Linked DNA regions of Homo sapiens: regions 1, 2 and 4 are each linked to region 3. The links are contacts of gene promoters, found by promoter capture Hi-C in blood cells and fetal thymus (Javierre and others, 2016). All regions are on one chromosome and are shown on one strand. The core of a region is centred on a gene start or on the middle of the fragment in contact, and the rest is flanking DNA. Distances in the headings are between cores, read along the strand shown. Region 1 overlaps PTPN5 (protein tyrosine phosphatase non-receptor type 5). Region 2 overlaps PTPN5 (protein tyrosine phosphatase non-receptor type 5). Region 3 holds the start of SAA4 (serum amyloid A4, constitutive). Region 4 has its middle 15 kb from the start of PTPN5.

Evidence for each region. The method cuts DNA at HindIII sites, captures the fragments that hold promoters and counts their contacts. A CHiCAGO score of 5 or more calls a contact.
Region 1: a fragment that was not itself captured here is called in contact with the fragment with the promoter of SAA4 in region 3 in 1 of 17 cell types (total CD4 T cells); the score reaches 5.7 in total CD4 T cells.
Region 2: a fragment that was not itself captured here is called in contact with the fragment with the promoter of SAA4 in region 3 in 7 of 17 cell types (naive CD4 T cells, total CD4 T cells, non-activated CD4 T cells and 4 more); the score reaches 11.9 in naive CD4 T cells.
Region 4: a fragment that was not itself captured here is called in contact with the fragment with the promoter of SAA4 in region 3 in 2 of 17 cell types (activated CD4 T cells and total CD4 T cells); the score reaches 6.9 in activated CD4 T cells.

The regions. Positions count from the first base shown.
Region 1 is chr11:18,781,660-18,784,359 of GRCh38, reverse strand. The region is part of intron 1 of PTPN5 (protein tyrosine phosphatase non-receptor type 5); the gene reads left to right. Among named protein-coding and RNA genes, the nearest start is that of PTPN5, 8.8 kb to the left of the region's middle. The HindIII fragment of the contact is 6,043 bases long and covers 1-2,700 here.
Region 2 is chr11:18,759,433-18,762,132 of GRCh38, reverse strand. The region is part of intron 3 of PTPN5 (protein tyrosine phosphatase non-receptor type 5); the gene reads left to right. Among named protein-coding and RNA genes, the nearest start is that of PTPN5, 31 kb to the left of the region's middle. RefSeq lists enhancers at 1-123, 124-624. The HindIII fragment of the contact is 703 bases long and covers 1,091-1,793 here.
Region 3 is chr11:18,235,512-18,238,211 of GRCh38, reverse strand. SAA4 (serum amyloid A4, constitutive) reads left to right here and starts at 1,410. Exons shown (of 4, transcript NM_006512.4): 1 at 1,410-1,495; 2 at 2,282-2,376. The coding sequence starts at 2,286. SAA2-SAA4 (SAA2-SAA4 readthrough) reads left to right here. Exons shown (of 6, transcript NM_001199744.2): 4 at 2,282-2,376. The HindIII fragment of the contact is 10,895 bases long and covers 1-2,700 here.
Region 4 is chr11:18,805,069-18,807,768 of GRCh38, reverse strand. No RefSeq gene overlaps it. Among named protein-coding and RNA genes, the nearest start is that of PTPN5, 15 kb to the right of the region's middle. The HindIII fragment of the contact is 1,809 bases long and covers 449-2,257 here.

The DNA of each region.
Region 1 (2,700 bases), core at 58-2,557, 550 kb before region 3:
GTCGTCTCTGTGGTATCATATATCAGAATCTCATTTATTTTCAAAGCTGAATATATTCCATTGTATGGATATACCACATTGTTTGGCCATTCATCTGTTTCCACCTTTTGGCTATTGTGAATAATACGGCTATGAACATTGGTGTGCCAGGATCTGTTTGAGCCCCCGCTTTCAATTCTTTGGGGTATATACCTCGCAGTGGAATTGCTGGATCGTATGATCATTCTGTGTTTCACTTTTTGAGAGGTGCAGGGTGCATTTTTTAAAAAGGATTTTTGTGTGCCCAGTATGAAGACCACTGAGTGAAGTCTTAGGAATAGAGAGTCCAGGAAGAAGCTGTTAATTTAAAAACTAAATGTTGTTTGGGTTCTGCATGGCCATGGAGGTAACAGAGAAGAGAGAAGAGGGAACAGAATACAAATGAGTCTGACTCCGTTTCTGAAGAATTGTTGTGATTTAGAGGCATTGTGGGTGGAAAAAGAAAGCTCTCAGGAGAGATCTTAGTGGGTGGAATTGATTCAAGCATGCAAGTATTTACTGTACCAGGCACTGTGGTGGACACAAGGCCCTCAGCAATCAACACGACCACAAGGACCCTGCCCGCAAGGAGCTTAATGTCTAGTGGAGGTGCCAGAGGAGTCACCTGGCAACAGTGGTCTGTACTGATGCATTCTAGGCTCATCATAAGCACTCACTCTTACTGAGTGCTTACTACATTATCTCAATCTTGGTGACAGTTCAGTGAAGACGGTTTCTGTTATCCTCAATTTGCAGGTGAGGAAACAGAGAGCTTGAGTAACTCTATTTCAGGTACGCACAGCAAGAGTCAGAGCCAGAATTTAAACCTAGGCAGTAACTGTGCTCTGTAGGGCTGTGGGAACACAGGAGAGACACCTGCCCAGGACGGAGGTCAGAGAAGGCTTTCCGAAGGCAGGGGTCAGGTGAGTATTTTCACGCAAGTCAGCTGTGTTCTTCTTTAGCCCATGATGTAAAACAGTGCTTTCCTATAGTAGCAGCAGTAGCGTTCAGCCCTGCTTCCAGGGACTCTAGACACTCAGGGAGACCCCTTCACTGAGACTCCACTTCAGAGGAAGATGATCACTTCTATCATCCTTGCTGCTTATCATGAGGCAGGGAGGCTGGGGGTGAGGCATTGCCATTTCCCACTGCCATCTGCTGCCTCTGCTACTTCCCTAGCTGGTCAGCATCTGAGGTACCTCAGAGGGACCTCCTGGGGCCCCTTCGGGGCAGCATCAGGCCAGTGGGCTAAGAGTTAGGCAAATACGAGGCCTAGGAGTGGCAGTGAAAATCATATATCCACCTTCTGTGCCACATCACTGTCCCAAGATACTCCCACCACCACAGAGCCCTGTCTTACCAAAGTACAGATGTGGCCAAGTCTCTGGTGTTTCCATCCTTCTGTGGCTCCCCATAGCTTGCAGCCGTATTTCTCAACAGGGACCTACTGGCCTTTGGGTGGGAGAGTTCTTTGATGTAAAAGCATCCCTGGCCCCATCTCCTATATATTTGCCTGGAGCACCCTTCAGTCATTATAACAACCAAAAATGCTCACACATGTTCTTCAGGTTTACTTTACAAGCAGTCCAATGTATAGATCTTAAGTGTTCTGTTCAGTGCATTTTGACAACTGCATGAGCTCATATAACCATCACCAAGAGCAAGACTCAGAAGATTTCCATCACCCGCAAAAGTTCAGAGATAACGATTATTCCAATTTCTATCATTGTAGATGGATTTTGTCTGTTCCTAATCGTCATATAAGTGGAATCATATAGTACATGCTCTTTTGTGTCATGAAATAGTTTTTAAGAAGCCAGACGCAGTGGCTCATACCTGTAACCCCAGCACTTTGGAAGGCCAAGACGGGTGGATCATCTGAGGTCAGGAGTTCGAGACCAGCCTAGCCAACATGGTGAAATCCCATCTCTACTAAAAATACAAAAATTAGCTGGGCATGGTGGTACACACCTGTAGTCCCAGCTACTCGGGAGGCTGAGGCAGGAGAATCCCTGGAACCTGGGAGGTGGAGGTTGCAGTGAGCCAAGATCATGCCACTGCACTCAAGCCTGGGTGACAGAACGAGACTCCATCTCCAAAAAAAAAAAAAGACATAGTTTTTGAGATCCATCCACGTTGTCACGTTTTCCCCACTAACCCCCAATACACACACAGATTTCTAAATGCCAACTAGCATGGCAATACCTGCCTCTGTCCCCCTGAGAAAAAATGGCCTGTGAGTCAAAGTTAGTGTGTCTTAGGCTGATTCATGAAGCCGTCTGCTGTGTGACAAGAGTCCCTCTTACGTCTACTCTGTGGCTACACTGAGCTGCCTCGTCTGCCTGGCATACCTTGTGCTTTCACCTCTCCGGGCCTTTGCCCTGCAGTGTTCCCTGCCTGGAATGTCCTCCCTGTATCTGGTGAACTCCTGCTTGTCCTTCGGGTCTCTTCTGTGCAGCTTCCCAGACTCTGTTTTTGTGCCCTCCTGAGTGCTCCCATAAGACAGCCTCAGTGGGCCTTTAATGCATTTCTCACTCAACTCACTAGGCCGAATGCTGGGTGGAGGGCAGGGACTGGCTCTTAGTTATCTGTGTGTCCCCCAAGGCTCAGTACAGAGCCTGATATTAAAGAAATTGATATAAGATTATAGTAAGATTATCTTAGAGACAAACTGGGTTTAAA
Region 2 (2,700 bases), core at 193-2,692, 520 kb before region 3:
TTTCTTGGTGGAAACGTCCTCAGCATCACCAACACTCCCTGGGAGCTCCCCCCAATGCCCCAGAGCCAGGCATGCTGCCTCACAGCCCCTGGGACACCCCCCACATGTGCTCTCGCACACTCGTGTTTGTGCTCACTTGTCATAGCCACATGCTCCCCGATGCACATGCATGTTCCCACGCACAGTCACCCGGGCACGTGGCCTGCCTCTGTCTCACACAGCCCTGCAGGGGCGGACGCACACCTCCAGGCTCACACACCTGCATGCCTTCCTCTTGCACACTCACCTCTCTCAGCTCCATCCCTCCATCCCGCGGCTTCCACTCTGCATGCTTCCTGGTGATGTGCTTGCTCTCTCATTCCCTCCTTAGGTGTCTTTCTCTTTCTCCCACTACTGTACCCCTTCTTCACGCACACTCTTGAAAATGACTAGGCAGACTCCTTTTCTCCCTCTCCATTCTCTGTCCTCTTCTCAGGCTCTCAGTCATGCCCAGCTCCCCGGTACTGTGGGGGCAGTGAGTGTCTACCCCACTGCCTTCCCCACCCCTGTGCACATGTGCACACATGTATTTTTCTTCTCCCTCATGCACACACCCTTTTTCATGTGGTCACCCTCCTCTTCTCTTTCACTCTTCCTTTCTTGCTCACTTCATTTGCTCACAGTCACCCAAACACTTTGGTACATTCAAACTCACAATCTCTCTTCTTCTATGTGTAGGTGTTCACATTTGCAAGACACCAGGTGGCACTGCTAATGTTGGGGACTCCACTCCTTCCCCCATCCAGCACCAGTACAGGCCTAGCCCAGCATAGTCCTAGCTCCCAGCAGCTGCCGCGGAGGTACAAGGTAGAAGAAGGAGGTAGATAAAGCAGCAGTAGGTGCCAGTGGGGGCCAGCACATGGAATAGAGCAACATCACCAGGTGTTGCTCTCAGCAGCATCATCATGCAGACTCGTGGGCAGGCCTGCAGGGACCAAGGTCAGACTGCCAATAAAGACCCTCGCAGTATACCACCCCTGCTCAGTCCTGCACTGCAAGGGCCATTGCTTGCGTGCATGCATGTGGGCAGGCCAGTCTGTATGTTCAAGCTTGGTCCACACTCCACCCTAATAGCTACTCCTTGGCCACCCCTCAAACCTGAAGATGCGTAAGCAGGAGACAGTGTCTACCCTCACAGGGATGTACCTGAGCAAGAGACCCATGCAGGCTTCAAGCCATTTGGGCAGGAAATCCTGAAGTCCTAGTAGTTAGAGTGTATCCTGGAAAGGGGAACATGGACACCAGCTGCTAACAGACTCTAGTTGAGTATATCTCCTGAGCCCTATGGACTTCTCTGCTCATGGGGAGTGCCATGGACAGAAGAGACGGGGCACAGGGCCCAGGTCTAAGGACAACGCTGCTCTTGGGAACAAAGTACTCCTGGAGCCTTCCTGCGGGCAGCTGGCTGGAGCCATGACAATCCCTACCAACCTGAGATTTCAGTGTGTCATGATTAGCTGGCTTTATGCAAGGTCATGAGTATGCTGAAGGCCTGAGTAGGCCATTGCACTTTTGGTAGGAACAACTGGCCTCTTGGGCTGGTGATTCTGAGACCTACTCTTCACCTTAGATCCTGATGTCTTGCAACCTGTCCCCAACCCAGCCCTAGGCACTCTGCTCTGTATCATTGTGGGTATTAAGTGGACCCTTCCTTCGGGCCAAGGACAAGGTCTAGGTCTCAGCAAGAGGCCACTGCCCATCCCGAGTGCCACTTTTTAAAGTAAAGGAGCTGGAGGCCTGAATCAAGGAAAGCTTTGTCACCCTAATCCTGCAGCGCCTATCTCTGACCAGCAGGAAAGAACAAGTCATAGCTTTCATAGCCTTCCTACCATGCCACAGATGAGGTCTTGGACCAGTAGCCAACAAGGGCAGTTGAAAAGGCAGCCTGATTCTTTTATCCACTCAATTTTATTGAGCACCTACTCCATGCTCCATGCTTGCCAGGCACTGGTGATACAGTGACAAGCAAGACAGACATGGTCCCTGCTCCTAAAGAGTTTAGGGTGCCATGGAAGGGTACAGCCATTTTGCAACCCTATCTTGGTGGGTCAGGGAAGGCTTCCTCTAAGAAGTGACCTAGAACATGAATAGGGTCTCGATTCATGTCTTCAGGAACCTGCTGTGTCAAGCATTTTAAGGAGCAGGTTTACCTCATAATGGGCCTCATCCCTGATCTGCTAGCCCCTGTTTTCACAAAGCTCCCCAGAGTGGTGCTTATATTGGTTTAAGCTGGTCTGTGGGCAGGTGCAGAAGCCCAAATGGACAAACCTCCAGAAGATGGACCTGGTTGTAGTAGTACTGCTGAGATGTCACCGGTAGCTGTCAACACTCAGTGGTAGAGGTTCTGTTGATTTTTATTTCTTTGTTGAATTGATGGTTCTGTTTTCATTCAAGACTTCAAATACATTTAGAGATATTTATTGTCATTGATGGTACGATGAGTTTTTTACTTGAGTCTTCAGAATGGATAATTAAAGTATAAACGAAACACCATTTGGATGTGCTAAGAACACTAACTGGGCAGTATTCTGTAACGATGCCATTGTGTTGAGAAAAGAAGTACCATCCCAGGTGCCCACTGGTCAGCAATAGTAGAGGCTAACTATTCTCAGACACCAGGATGGAGCCCATCTAGCTAGGCCTTGGGGTGCTATGGCCAGG
Region 3 (2,700 bases), core at 161-2,660:
AATTCACAATTCCTAGAAAATAGAAATAGCTCTTAAACATGTGGAAAGATGTGAAACCAAAATCATAATAAGAGAAATGTAAATTAAAATTACTTTGAGTTTTATTTTACTCACAATTTCAAAGACCAAAAAGTTTGAGAGTATACTGTGTGAGAGACAATGTGGAACCAAGTTCTTTCACTCATTTCTGGTGGGAGTAGAGATTGATACAGCCCTCATGGAAGGCAATTTGCAACATATAAAAATTTATAAAATCTAGGGCCAGGGACGTTGGCTCATGCCTGTAATCCTAGCACTTTGGGAAGCCGAGGTGGGCAGATCATTTGAGGTAAGTGGGTCGAGACTAGCCTGGCCAACATGGCGAAATCCCGTCTCTCTTAAAAATAGAAAAATTAGCCTGATGTGGTGGCATGTGCCTATAATCCCAGCTACTCAAGAGGCCGAGGCAGGGGAATCTCTTGAACCCCGGAGGTGGAGGTTGCAGTGAGCTGAGATCATGCCACTGCACTCCAGCCTGGGGGACAGAGTGAGACTCTGTCTCAAACAAACAAACAAAAAATTTATAAAATCTGATACTTTTTCACCATGGAGTTTCTTCTGTAGGAATTTATCCTAGAGATATATTTGTACATGTGCAAGAGACATATGTACAAGGTTAATAAATGCACCATTATTTGTAATATCAAAAGGTTAATAACTGTCAAAACAGCCATTAATATTGTATAAATTATGGTCCATCCATGCAATGGAATACTGTGTAGCTGTAAAAAAAAAAAAAAAAAAAGCAACAAGCCCGACATGGAAAGACTTCCAATAAATAGTAAGTTTAAAAGAAAGTGCAGAATAATACATATTTATATGAAAAAAGAGTTTTTATGCCTCAAAGGCCTTCACCCTTGATCTTCTGGTGTTATTCCTGTCCTTGTATTCTCCCAGAATCATTACCTCATCCCATGAATGGTACAGTCAAGTCTTGCTTGTTCTGTGTCCTTACATTCTTTAGAGAGAAGTCACAAGAGACAAGCAAACATCTCTTTTGCTAATAATATTGATCACTTCCTACAGCATAATATCTATGTGCAATTTTTTGGGAAGACCTCCTACTAAACAGTTAAGAATGGAAAGACACAAAGAGAAGAAAGTGGAGAAAGACCTCTGTCTTCCCACACTGGATTTTGCAAATACAACTCTTCTGTGATACAGGAAACTAAAAAGAGGGAAAAGTGGCAATTAAGAAAAACTGCCAGAAAATAAATACCTTGATGACCCAATTTGGAAAACTACTTCTAGATAAGGAAACACTATTACCCAATATGTTAATTTTTAAAATACCCAAAGAATTGAGCAAAAAGGACTTTGGCAAGGCAGGTTGTTGGATTTAAAACCGTTCTCCCATTAATGCCAAAGCCAGCAGAGGTACCAACTATAGCTCCACGGCCAGAAGATACCAGCAGCTCTGCCTTTACTGAAATTTCATCTGGAGAAAGGTCCACAGGTGAGGTTTCTTCCAAGGAGTAATTTCTCTTATTTGACTCTTTTGAGATCCTTTTCTCACATAATTGTCAAATTTCAATTGGAGAGAAACTGTGTTTTCTACCTCATTACGGGGTCAGTGCTGAGGAGAGTAGGAACTCAGGAAATGCTTCTTGATTGACTTTAGTCTGCTGTATTGGGTGACAAATTGACCACAGACCAAATAACACGTTGGAATCCTCTTATTCTTTCTAGAGATCTGGGCTGAGAATTAAGGGTTTATGCTTCTTCTTAAAACCCGTTTCAATCTTTCATGCAGTTATGATTCTCATACAAACAAATGGAAATGGGGAATTAGTCTTTCAAATTCAGTCCTTTGGCTGGCACAGTGGCTCATGCCTGTAATCCTTTGGGAGGTTGAGGTAGGAAGATTGCTTGAGGCCAGGAGTTCGAGACTAGCCTGGGCCGAACATACATACCAAGACCTTGTCTCTACCAAAAAAAAAAAAAAAAAAATTAGCTGAGTGTGATGGTGCACGTTTGTAGTCCTTAATACTCAGGAGGCTGAGGTGGGAGGATCACTTGAGCCCAGAAGGTCGAGGCTGCAGTAAGCCTTAATCATATCATTGCACTTTAGCCTGGGCAATAGGAAAAAAAAAAGAAAGAAAGAAAGGGAGGAAAGAAAGAAAGGAAGGAGAAAGAAAGAAAAGGAAAAAAAGAAAGAAAAAAAGGAAAGAAATTCAGTCCTCAAAACATAGATCTGTGTTTTTTTTTATGATCCTCTGCCCCTGTCTTTCTTTCTCTTCAGCACAATGAGGCTTTTCACAGGCATTGTTTTCTGCTCCTTGGTCATGGGAGTCACCAGTGAAAGCTGGCGTTCGTTTTTCAAGGAGGCTCTCCAAGGTAAGAACTCTGGAGGATGGAGGGCACATACCCAGGATTCATTCTGAGCAGGGGCCACATACTCACTGGATGTGAGTGCTCCTTAGAGAAGCCACACAGAGGTCAGAGCAGGAGTGTGGTTTTCTGTATCTGTTTCTTCCTCTAGGCTGGTCTGATTTATCACCCTCCCTTGGGGTTTCCAGACGAGAGGTTAAAGATGCTTTGGGCCCAGCCTGTACTCTTGGTGTAGAGTGCAGAAGGATAAAAACTTCCAGGGGGTTATCTCCCACTGCGGAAATTTACAGATGGCAGATTTCTCAGGGCATGATGTTTATTTAGCTCATC
Region 4 (2,700 bases), core at 104-2,603, 570 kb before region 3:
TGCAGTGAGCCAAGATTGCGCCACTGCACTCCAGCCTGGGCGACAGAGTGAGACTCCATCTCAAAAAAAATAAATTAATTAATTAAAAAAAAAGAACAAGGCTGGAGGCATCACACTTTCTGATTTCGAAACATGTAAAGCAATGCAATCAAAACAGCATTGTACTGGCATACAACAGACACACTGACCAGTAGGACAGGCTAGAAAACCCAGAAATAACCCTTGCATTTACAGTCAACTGATTTTTGACAAGCATGCCAAGAATACACAATGGGGAAAGAACATCTCTTCAATAAATGGTATTAGAAAAACTGCACATCCACACACAGAAGAAAGAAATTAGACCTTTATCTTACACCATACACAAAAATCAACTCAAAATGGGCAAAAGACTTAACTATAAAGCTGAAACTGAAAAGCTACTAGAAGAAAACGTAGGGGGAAAGCTTCATGACAATTTTCTGGGCAAGGATTTCTTGGATAGGATCCCAAGAGCACAAGAAACAAAAAGAAAAATAGGCAAATGAGATGGCATCAAAGTAAAAAACTTCTGCATAGCAAAGGAAACAATTAACAAAAGGAAGAGACAACCCATAGAATGGGAGAAATATTTGCAAACCATACATCTGATAAGGGGTTAATTTATAAAATATGTAAGGAACTCAATTCAAGAGCAAGAAAAAAAATAAATAACCCAATTTTTAAATGGGCAAAGCGCCTGAACAGATATTTCTCAAAAAAAAAAAAAAAAAAAGACATGTGAGTGACCAATAGGTACATGAAAAAAGGTCAGTATCACTAATCATTAGGCAAATGCAAATTAAAGCCACAATGAACTATCCCCCATACCTGTTAGAATGGCTTTTATCAAAGAGATAAGATATCAAGTGTTAGAGAGGATTCAGAGAAAAATGGAACTCTTATATACTGTTGATGGGAATGTAAATTAGTACAGCTGTTATGAAAAACAGTATGGAGTTTTCTCCAAGTATTACAAATAGAAATACTATAGGACTCGGTAATCTCCTTTCTGGGTATATATTAATAAGAAGCTGAAATTACACTTTGGGAGGCTGAGGTGGCCAGATCACCTGAGGTCAGGTGCTCGAGACCAGCCTGGCCAATACGGCGAAACCCTGTCTCTACTAAATATACAAAAAAATTAGCCTGGTGTGGTGGTGGGTGCCTGTAAGCCCAGCTACTCGGGAGGCTGAGGGAAAAGAATCACTTGAACCCAGGAGTCAGAGGTTGCAGTGAGCTGAGATTGCTCCACTGCACTCCAAGCTGGGTGACAGAGCAGGACTCCGTCTCAAAAAAAGAAACTGAAATCAGTATGTTGAAGGGGTATCTCCACTCTCACATTCATTGTAGCATTATTCACAATGGCTAAGGTAGGAGAACGATCTAAGTTTCCATCAACAGATAAAGAGAAATATGGTGTACATATTCAATGGACTACTATTCAGCCTTTAAAATGGGGGAAATATTGTCATTTGCAACAACATGGATTAATCTGGAAGACATTGTGGTAAGTGAAAAAGCCAGGCACAGAAAGACAAATACCTCACGATTTCCTTATAAGTGAAATGTAAATATGTGAATTCATAGAAGTAGACAGTAGAATAATGGTTACCAGATGCTGAGGAAGAGGGGAGGGAGGAAATGAACAGTTGCTGATGAAAGAGTACCAAGACCCAGATTACATAAGAGGAAAGGATTTTGAGATCTATTGCACAGAAGGCTGACTATAATCAATAACAATGTATTATATAATATATTTCATAATAAGTACATTTCAAATGTCTCACCTTAAAAAATGATAGGCAAGAAAGGTGATTGATATGTTAATTAGCTTAATTTATTAATGCCACATTGTATACCTATATTAAAACTTCACATTTTACATCATAAATGTATACAATTATGGTTTGTCAATCTAACATAGTATTAATAATTTAAATTTTTTAATGTCAGGTCTATCTAATTCTGAAGCCCATGTTTTTTCCACCATACCATCATTTCTGTATTTAATAAAATGTTTGTTTCATTTTCAAATCATTAAATCATAGAATGTGTTCCTGATTCTTCCCCTTCCCTGTCCTCCTTTCCCCATTCCCTTACAGGCTTCCCCTGAGAGCACTCCTTAGTAAATCACATGCACATGAATCCCCACCTCAGATTCTGCTTCTGGAGAACGTGGCCTGAAATTACAAAAGTGATCTCAATTTCAACATGGGCACAAAGTTTAAGTGAAGCTTAAATTGAAGTAATGATCATTTGAAAGTTATGTTCTGGACCAGGGATTCCCAATCCTCCCTGTGACTGAAATCACATGGTACAGTTTTTAAAATGCCATTTCCCAGGTCCTGTCCTAGATCTCCTTAACCAAAATTCCAGAAGTCTGACTTAGGAGTCTCCTCTTTTATTTAAGTTATAATATTTCTGATGATGGAAGTTTTGGAACCCATTGGTTTAGACAACTCAGTTGTATTGGATGGTTTAGACATACCCGTATATGAACTTGTGGGTGGGATATGCAAAATGAAATTTTGAGGTTCCTGCCAATATTACAAGTCTATGGTTCAGTTAACAATTTATCACAAATCAATATCTCTTAATTGAAAAAGTGATCTTGATTTTAAACCAGGCATAGCATGATCATTTATTACAAATGTAATTTAATGTGACTTTCTGAAATTC